Regions from separate parts of the Homo sapiens genome. Here region 2 is linked to region 1. Evidence: promoter capture Hi-C in human tissues and cell types (Jung and others, 2019). All regions are on one chromosome and are shown on one strand. Each heading gives the region's core, a stretch centred on a gene start or on the middle of the fragment in contact. The rest is flanking DNA. Distances are from core to core; before and after follow the strand shown. Region 1 holds the start of SPIN1 (spindlin 1). Region 2 has its middle 70 kb from the start of MIR4289.

Region 1 (4,056 bases), core at 1,110-3,609:
CCTGCCTCAGTCTCTGGAGCAGCTGGGATTACAGGCGTGCACCACCACGCCTCGCTAATTTTTGTATTTTTAGCAGAGATGGGGTTTCACTGTGTTGGCCAGGCTGGTCTCAAACTCCTGACCTCAAGTGATCCACTTGCCTCGGCCTCCCAAAGTGCTGGGATTACAGGTGAGAGCCACTGTTCTTGGCCTTTTTAAAATTTTTTAAAATTTTATTTATTTTAGAGTTGGGGTCTTGCTATGTTGCCCAGGCTGGTCTCAAACTCCTGGGCTCAAGCCATCCTCCAGCCTCAGCCTCCCAAAGTGTTGGGATTACAGGTGTAAACCACAGTCCTGTGTATTCTCAATAGCTCCCAATGAGATCATCACCAGTGGCAAATTTTAAATCAGGGGTTGGGGATGGAGATGAAGGTGGGGCCACATATTTGACTTTGAAGACGTTTTCCGTGAATTTTGGAGGAGTGTGTGTGCTACTGGCATCTAGTGGGTGGAGGCCAGGGATGCTGTCAAACATCCTACAAAGCATGGAACAGACCCCACATGAAAGGATTATCCCATCCCAAAAGCCAACACTGCTGAGGTGGAGAAACCCAGGGATCTCGCCAATGAGATGAAATCTTCCAACCAGCAGACTTCTTGGCACCTACCTTCTTCCCATCCCTCTTTGTTTCGGAGATGACCCCACTGCAAGACATTAAACAGGCCAGGCGCGGTGGCTCACGCCTGTAATCCTAGCACTTCAGGAGGCCGAGGCCAGCGGATTGCTGGAGGCCAGGAGTTTGAGACCGGCCTGGCCAACATGGCGAAACCCCGTCTCTACTAAAAATATTTTTAAAAATTAGCTGGACATGGTGGTGCGCGCCTGTAATCCCAGCTACTCGGGAGGCTGAAATGTGAGGATTGCTTGAACCCAGGAAGCGGAGGTTGCAGTGGGCCGAGATCATGCCACTGCACTGCAGCCTGGGGAACAGAGTGAGACTCCGTCTAAAAAAACAAAAAAGACATTAAACACACAAATGAAAGTGAGTAATTTCTCAACACTTGGTAACTTGTAAGTACAGCGATACACTTTTATATCTCAGTTTTGAAATTAGCTCTCTAGTTGGCCTGTGAACGTCCCATGCCTGCCAAGTGTGTCATCTGAGACAAGCACTTCAATTTGTTTGAGCAGGCATCTATCAATCTTATTTGTTAGAAAAGGTGCCAGTGAAACCCCAAAGAGTATTGCTAACTAATAACTGTGCTGCAGTTTAGAGTGTTCAAGGTGCTTTCCAGTAACATGTTCTGGAATTTGATCTGACAACGCTTTGGGAGGCGGTTTATTACGATGAGGCTGCGCTGTCGCACTCGAGGAACCAGGTCAGTGACCTGCTCCAGGACACGGGACTGGCGGGGAGGGGAGAGCGCCTGGACTCAGCCTCCAAGTCTCGCACTCGACTCTGCAGGAGTAAAAACTATTCTTGATCCTACCTCTCTCCCTTCTGCAAACAAGCAACAAAATGCTGAAAAGGCATCTTAACTGAAACGGAAGTCAAATGAATTCGCGTGCGATCATGGGAATTTTTGGCTCCTAACCTTGCGAGTAGAGCTGGGTGAGTTCCATTTGTGGTGGGGGAGTGGAAACAGGTTTCTGGGCTTGCAGAAGCCACATCCCGTCCCCACACAACCTAGGACAGGCCAGGTACTTGTAGGTGAGGCTCCGGGGCTCCAGCTAACCTGAGCTACCTGGGCTGGGCTTTGTGCGGGGAGGCAGCAAGCGGGGTGAGCCGGCGACGACGCCGGCCTCTACGCAGTGCGGTGGTGAAGACGTCTCTTCCAGGGAGTCACAGGAAGCAAATCCATCCTTTTAAAGGGCTCGCGTCCCGCGGCCCTGAACCGGCGCGCTGGAGCAGTAATGCGACGTTCTCCGAGGTTCAAGGCTCACGGCCCAGCCCTGTGATCCAGTTTCCTCAGTCTTCGCGGTGTGCACCACTCAGGACGACTTGCGGCTTACGTCCAGGACAAAGGGGGCTTGTCCTTTCTTCAACGTCCTACTGCGCAAAAACGAAGCCCTTCTCAGGCTGCCTGCCTTCCAGGAAAAGCTGCGCCCCCTCAGGAACCTGTGCCCCGCGCGCCTGCCGCCGCCCATTCCCGGCGCGCACCTGGCAGTCCCGGGCTCGAGCCCCGCCCTGCCGCCAGCCAGGTGAGAGGGGCCAGGCCCCGCCCTCGCCGGCCCCGCCCCGCCCCACTGCGCCTGCGCAGTCGGCCGTCGGCGCCAGGCGCCGGGGCGGCGCGGCCGTCGCAGTTCGGCGGGCGCAGTGCGCGTGCGCCCTGACTGTTGGGGGGCGGGCGGCGTCCGCGGCGAGGGAGCGGGGGCGGGGAGGCGCCGTCTGGCTCAGGCTGGGGCCGGCGGGAGCGCGAACGAGCGACGGCGGAACCCGTGGGCCTGTGGACTGCAGCCTCGGCGGTCAGCAGGTGAGGCCCGCGCAGGGCGGGCGTGGGTCGTGAGGGAGTGCGGGCTGCGGGCGGGCCAGCGGTGCGGCGGTCTGCCCGGGGGCGCAGGTGAGCGCGGCCCGCGCGGGGCCCGGCGGAGCATTGTCCAGCGGGCGGCGCCCGCATAGCGCCCCCTGCCGGCTGGGCCGCGGCGGGGACCCGGGCTGGGCGGGCCTGGGCCTCGGGGCGGGCGCGCGCTCCTTTGTTCGCCGGCCCCTACTCCTCCGTGCCCCCATCCCCGCCGCCCCCCGCCAACATGGCCGCCACCCTCTCGTCCCCAGTTCCCCGGCCGCCGCCGGCCCCTTAGCGCGCGCTTTGTTTGGAGCCGGGCGGGGAGGCCGGCGGGCAGGGGGCGGCGGCGCTGCGCAGTCGGGCGCGGGGAGGGGGCGCTGCGCCAGAATGCAGGCGGGGAGGGGGAACGTTGCATAATCCCGGGCCGGCGACGGGGGCGGGGCGGGGGGAGGGGCGGGACCCCGGCGCGACGGGTCGGGTCACCCCGGGGACGCGGGCCTGCCCTGGGGCCACCCCTCCCAGGCCCGGGGGATGGCCGCGGACCTTGTAAGTTGCAGGCTCCGCGGTTCGCGGCGCCGGAACGCCCACCGGCCAGTCCTCGCGCCCGCGCAGCCCCTTTCCTGATGCGCCGTCTCTTCGCCGCCCTCCGTGGGGGCGCGGCGAACGGGTTGCGTGCTCTGGAGAGAGACAGGCACTTTTCCTCTCCATCGTGAGTGACCTTGGGTGTATTCGTCAAGGAATGTGTTGAAACGAATTGTGCGATGCGGGAACTGCGCAGCGCCTCGGGTTTGGCTTTCTCGAGCATTTTATTGCATTGATTGTGCGTTCTCGATTTTACAGAGGTTCGTTTTGAGTAATGGCTTCAGTAATGTCATCGTATACGCATTTCAAAGTTTGTTTATGGAATTGTTTTTACATTTATTCTCTTTTTACTTATAATTTTTGAATCAGATTTTGTGTTTTGGAGAGATTTTCCGTACGTGGTGGAAGTGTTTTCACTCATGGTAAATATGGATTGTTTGGCAATTTTATCACGTTAATCACAAAACAATACCAGGAACATTTAAATGTCTTAAAGGATTTCACTCTACATGACTTGTGCCAGAGACGACACACGTACCAAAACGCGATTACCTGTCTTAACTTTTTTTCTATTGGAATTTTCTGGAAGGAATTCCATGCAATCCGAAAGGATTAATGGAGGGTACAGTAATTGCTTTCTACATCGCTTTTGTTAAGCAGTGAAAATTAAACTTGGAGATTTATACCTGGATATACTGAGTTTTTTTTAACACTCTTTTGAAGTGAAATTTTGGAAAGGGCAGGTGAAATGAGGCTTCTTCCAACCTCCCCACTCTCCCCCCTCAGCTTTAGTTAAAAGGCAAACACCAAAATATTGTAGTACCTGGTAATTTACAGAACGTTCGTTATCAGATTTGATAATTATATATTAAGGTTGTAAAGAATGTGTATGCCAGAATTATAGGTAGTAGATCCTAGATTCTTAGGAAAAATAGTTTCTTTATAATCTTTTGAGTAGTGAAATGGTTACTTTTACAATGGTTATGAACT
Region 2 (4,056 bases), core at 590-3,089, 430 kb after region 1:
CAGTGGGTCTCCCATTCCCCATGATCTTAACAGCCACAGGAAGCAGTTCCTCACACGGAAGCGGGCAGGATGAGCTCTTGACTTGAGCTAAAAGGGAAAACACCTTCCACACCTACAGGGGGCTTCGATACACCCTCCAAATAATCCTTTTCACAGAGTCTCCCAGCCTCCCCCACATGAGGCCTAGATGCTCCAACAGGTCCTCAGAGAGCAAAACCAATTTTTAATGAATTCCGTTGTAAATGTTGCATAAGCTCCGGCACCTCGTTTGAAATGCAGCCAGTCCTGTGCCCTGTTTTCCAAGCAGCGCCTTCATGTTAACATCTTTTCATCTCTGGGAAGAAAATTGCTTTCCATCAAAAGATTTAGAAAGCATGGGATTTATAATTCTCTTTAATAAGCAAAACATGCGTGCAGAAACGCTAAGAAATGAGCGTGTGGGGTTTCCCCACTCAGACCCAGGTCAAGGTCAGAGCCTCCAGGGTCCCTATGTGCCTTAGTCATTTATGTAAACAGTCCTTTACTTTAGGGCACTTTCTGTTGATCTATTGGCCATATACTTTTTTTTTTTTTTTTTTTTGAGCTGGAGTTTCACTCTTGTTGCCCAGGATGGAGTGCAATGGCATGATCTTGGCTCAGTGCAACCTCCAACTCCTGGGTTCAAGCAATTCTCTTGCCTCAGCTTCCCGAGTAGCTGGGATTACAGGTGCCCGCCACAACACCTGGCTAATTTTTGTATTTTTAGTAGAGACAGGGTTTCACCACATTGGTCAGGCTGGTCTCCAATTCCTGACTTCAGGTGATCCACCCATCTTGGCCTTTCAAAGTGCTGGGATTACAGGCATGAGCCAGCGCGGCTGGCCATACACTTTTAAAGGAGGGGTCTGCTTTAAGATTTGGATGAAAAATAAATAAAATTAACTGCATGAAAAAGCAATTTGCAAATGGGTGGTCCAAGCCCCTCTTAAAGTTTGATACATCTTTCAAGCTGAGAGGAAGTCTACGTACCTCCACCATCTCCAGAGTTTGTTCCCTGCAAAAGTGATTTTAATCTAGAGCAATGAATTCTGCAAACTCACATCTCAGGCATGTTCCTAATAATAGACTGCCTCCCTGCCCCCACACTGGCAGCCGAATGTTGCCAGTCCCAAGGAATGCTCCATCATGATGCCATTTGCCTGTCAGGACTCTATCCCAGCAGCAGCTGCAGCTGATTATGGCTCGGCTGTGGGCTGTGTTTTTTTATGATCCACCTCCTCCCTTTCAAAATCAATCAGGGCACACTCATGGAAGTAAAATTAGAGGCCCTGGCCAGGGCTTCAGCTTGAGAAATGCACTTTCCCCTCCTTTTCAGGGCAGTGGTGTCCAAGGAGGCCAACAGAGGGGTGGACACCCCGCAAGAAGCCCTGTGACAGCCTCCACCCAGCGTGTCTCCATCTATAGGCAGTTGCTAAGAGACTTAAAATGCTTTTATTCCTGAAGTTTCTTCTTCTTTCCCCTCCTAACCACCCTGGTGTGGCCCTCAGCTCTCAGTAGATATTTCATGTTCTGCACTCCCCTTCCAACCATGTTTATTTCTGCTTTGGGATGCTTGTTGGAAATAGCATGCCATTCAAAGTCACAGACTGTCACCTTGTCCTTAGCTGCTGCCTTCATTTCAGTCCTTTTTTCTACCTATCGAGACTCATTGGCAACCACCATGTGGTCCCTCCCCAGTTATCCCACTGCTCTCTGGGGGCATCATCTGAGCTCGGTTGTCCCTCAGCAGCCTGGGCCAGAGCTGTCCTCTTTGGTTGATTCTTGAACAATCCATCACCTTCACATCCCAACGTGACATTTCCATAAGATCAAACTGCATTCTTTATCCATCCCTGAAGATACATATTCATTTTCAAAAGCTTTGGCTCTCAATTAAAACAGAGAGAGTCATTTGGTCGAGGGCTCTGTGGAAAAGACATTATTAGCTGGAGTATTCTTCTCTTCCCTGTGGTGAATGAGAGAGCATTTTCCAATTAAGGCACTCATTCACTTTCAAGAGGCATGTGCAGGGTGCTCAGATGCGGTATAAAGGAGAGCCAGGCAGATCAGTAGCAAACGAGAGGAAAAACTGGTGGAAAATTAAGAAGAAATGAGAGTATTCAGATGCCAGAAGAGAAAATGAAAGACTGATACAGTGACGTACTCCTGCCCCAGAAGCGGAGTGTCTGCTCAAAAGCGTGAATTTGTGCAAAAGGTTGTGCACCAAAGCAGAAGGGATTCTGTTTGCACAAATGCATGTTTCTATGGATGTGCACGAGATCTGTTGTTCTAACAAGAATTGCTGAGCATTTCCAGCAGGTCACTTAGGGGAGAAAGGACTCTGCAGCCTTCCTGGCCCATCTTCTTCCTAGGTATCCCGGGGGAAGGGCATTTCTGATCTGCCTGCTCCAAAGCTGGGACTAGTACTGGGCCATCTGCTATCGCCTCCCAGGTGATGTGCCATAAAGTCAGAACTCATGAAACATCTCCTGGGCAGCCTCCTTCACTTTCCACACCTGTAACGAGTGGAGAAATTTAGGCCTGGGTCTCTCTTTCTCTCACTCTCTCTGCCCCATCTTCGTCATACCAGATATTCCGAGCATGCTGGTCCCAAAATACAAGTAGTGTAGGGGAGGCCTGGAGAGAGTGAGGCAGGAGCTCAAGTTGTCCCAGAGCCTTGCGTGGGAGCTGGTTGTTGCTTTCCTGGCCACTGACAAAGCGCTTCACCGACCTCCAGTCTATTCTCATTTCCTGCCTTTGACTCCTCGGTAGAGCGCCGTGCATCATGACTGATGACTGACTCTCTTGCCGGCTCCCTGTGGTCAGTCCCTGGGTTGGGTTGAGGCAGACACTCCATCTTCATGGAGTGTGGTCTACTGTGGAATTTCCTGCTGTGTTGGTCTCTGCATCGGTCACTGTGATGGTCCCTGCTCTGGAACAGTGTAGACAACAACTGAGTCTGAAAGGAGAAGGATGGACAGGATCCAGATCCAGGGCTTTTCAAGTTGGGATTCCCCTGGGGCCAGGTAATCTATGTGCTCCAACAGCTCACTTTTTGAGTGGGCAATGTCACAGGCCAACTCCTTTGCTTCAGGTATATCAGGTGTACTAGGGTGTGCCAGAGTACCAGGTGTGCCGGAGGGATCAGACGTGCCAAGGGTGCCAGTTGTGCCAGGAGACCAGGTGTGCCAGGAACAAGGTGTGCCAGGGACCAGGTATGCCAGAGAACCAAGTGTGCCATGCGTACCAGGTGCATCCAGGGACCAGGTGTGCCACAGGACCAAGTGTGCTATGGGTACCAGGTGTGCCCAGGGACTATTCACATCAGGGGTACCAGATGTACAAGGCACCAGGTGTGCCAGGGGACCAGGTGTAGCAGGGATACCAGGTGTACCAGAAGTACCAAAGGTAGCTCAGCTCTTCTCCAGCTGATGATGCAGTGTTGACTCTATTTTTCTTTGAAATAAGAATTTTGTTCTCTCCTTCTCACACACGAAAATTATAAGGAAATTTATTTATATTTATTTATTTATTATAATGAAATTTAAGGAAAAATTGTATTTATAGTAAATACAAATAGATAAAAAGTTAAAACTATCTAAACTACCCCATTCAGGAATAACCACTTTAAATGCTTTAATGTCAGTCATTCCAATAATTTTTTGATTTTACATGTAATGTTTTCAATACACTCTACTTAAAAACAGAATCGTGATTTCAAAGCCTGTTAGTTCAAGAAACCTGACATTTTCAACATCTTTCTGTATCATTAACACACTCCTACAACATCATTGTTAATGGCCTTCTGGGATTCCATTACTTTGAATGTAACAAAACTTTTTCAACCAATCTCTTCATTTTGGACTTTCAAATTATTCCTCCCTTATTTATCTAACCTACTACTGATAGATGTTTGCTTGGGTAGTACCAACATAAAATAGCCTTGCCAGGTGCCAAGTGTGGTGGCTCAAGCCTGTAATCCCAGCACTTCGGGAGGCCTAGGTGGGCAAATCATTTGAGGTCAGGGGTTCGAGACCA

Evidence for each region. Contacts are between HindIII fragments. The study calls those that stand out against the background at their distance.
Region 2: a contact is called between a fragment that was not itself captured here and the fragment with the promoter of SPIN1 in region 1, in 1 of the 25 tissues and cell types used here (dorsolateral prefrontal cortex).

What each region holds. Positions count from the first base shown.
Region 1 is chr9:88,386,085-88,390,140 of GRCh38, forward strand. It overlaps SPIN1 (spindlin 1), which reads left to right and starts at 2,360. Exons shown (of 6, transcript NM_006717.3): 1 at 2,360-2,454. It overlaps LOC124902204 (a long non-coding RNA gene), which reads right to left and starts at 3,115. Exons shown (of 2, transcript XR_007061652.1): 1 at 3,028-3,115; 2 at 1-2,033. RefSeq lists an enhancer at 1,176-2,035 and a silencer at 2,113-3,012. The HindIII fragment of the contact is 12,466 bases long and covers 1-4,056 here.
Region 2 is chr9:88,813,528-88,817,583 of GRCh38, forward strand. No RefSeq gene overlaps it. Among named protein-coding and RNA genes, the nearest start is that of MIR4289, 70 kb to the left of the region's middle. The HindIII fragment of the contact is 5,052 bases long and covers 1-4,056 here.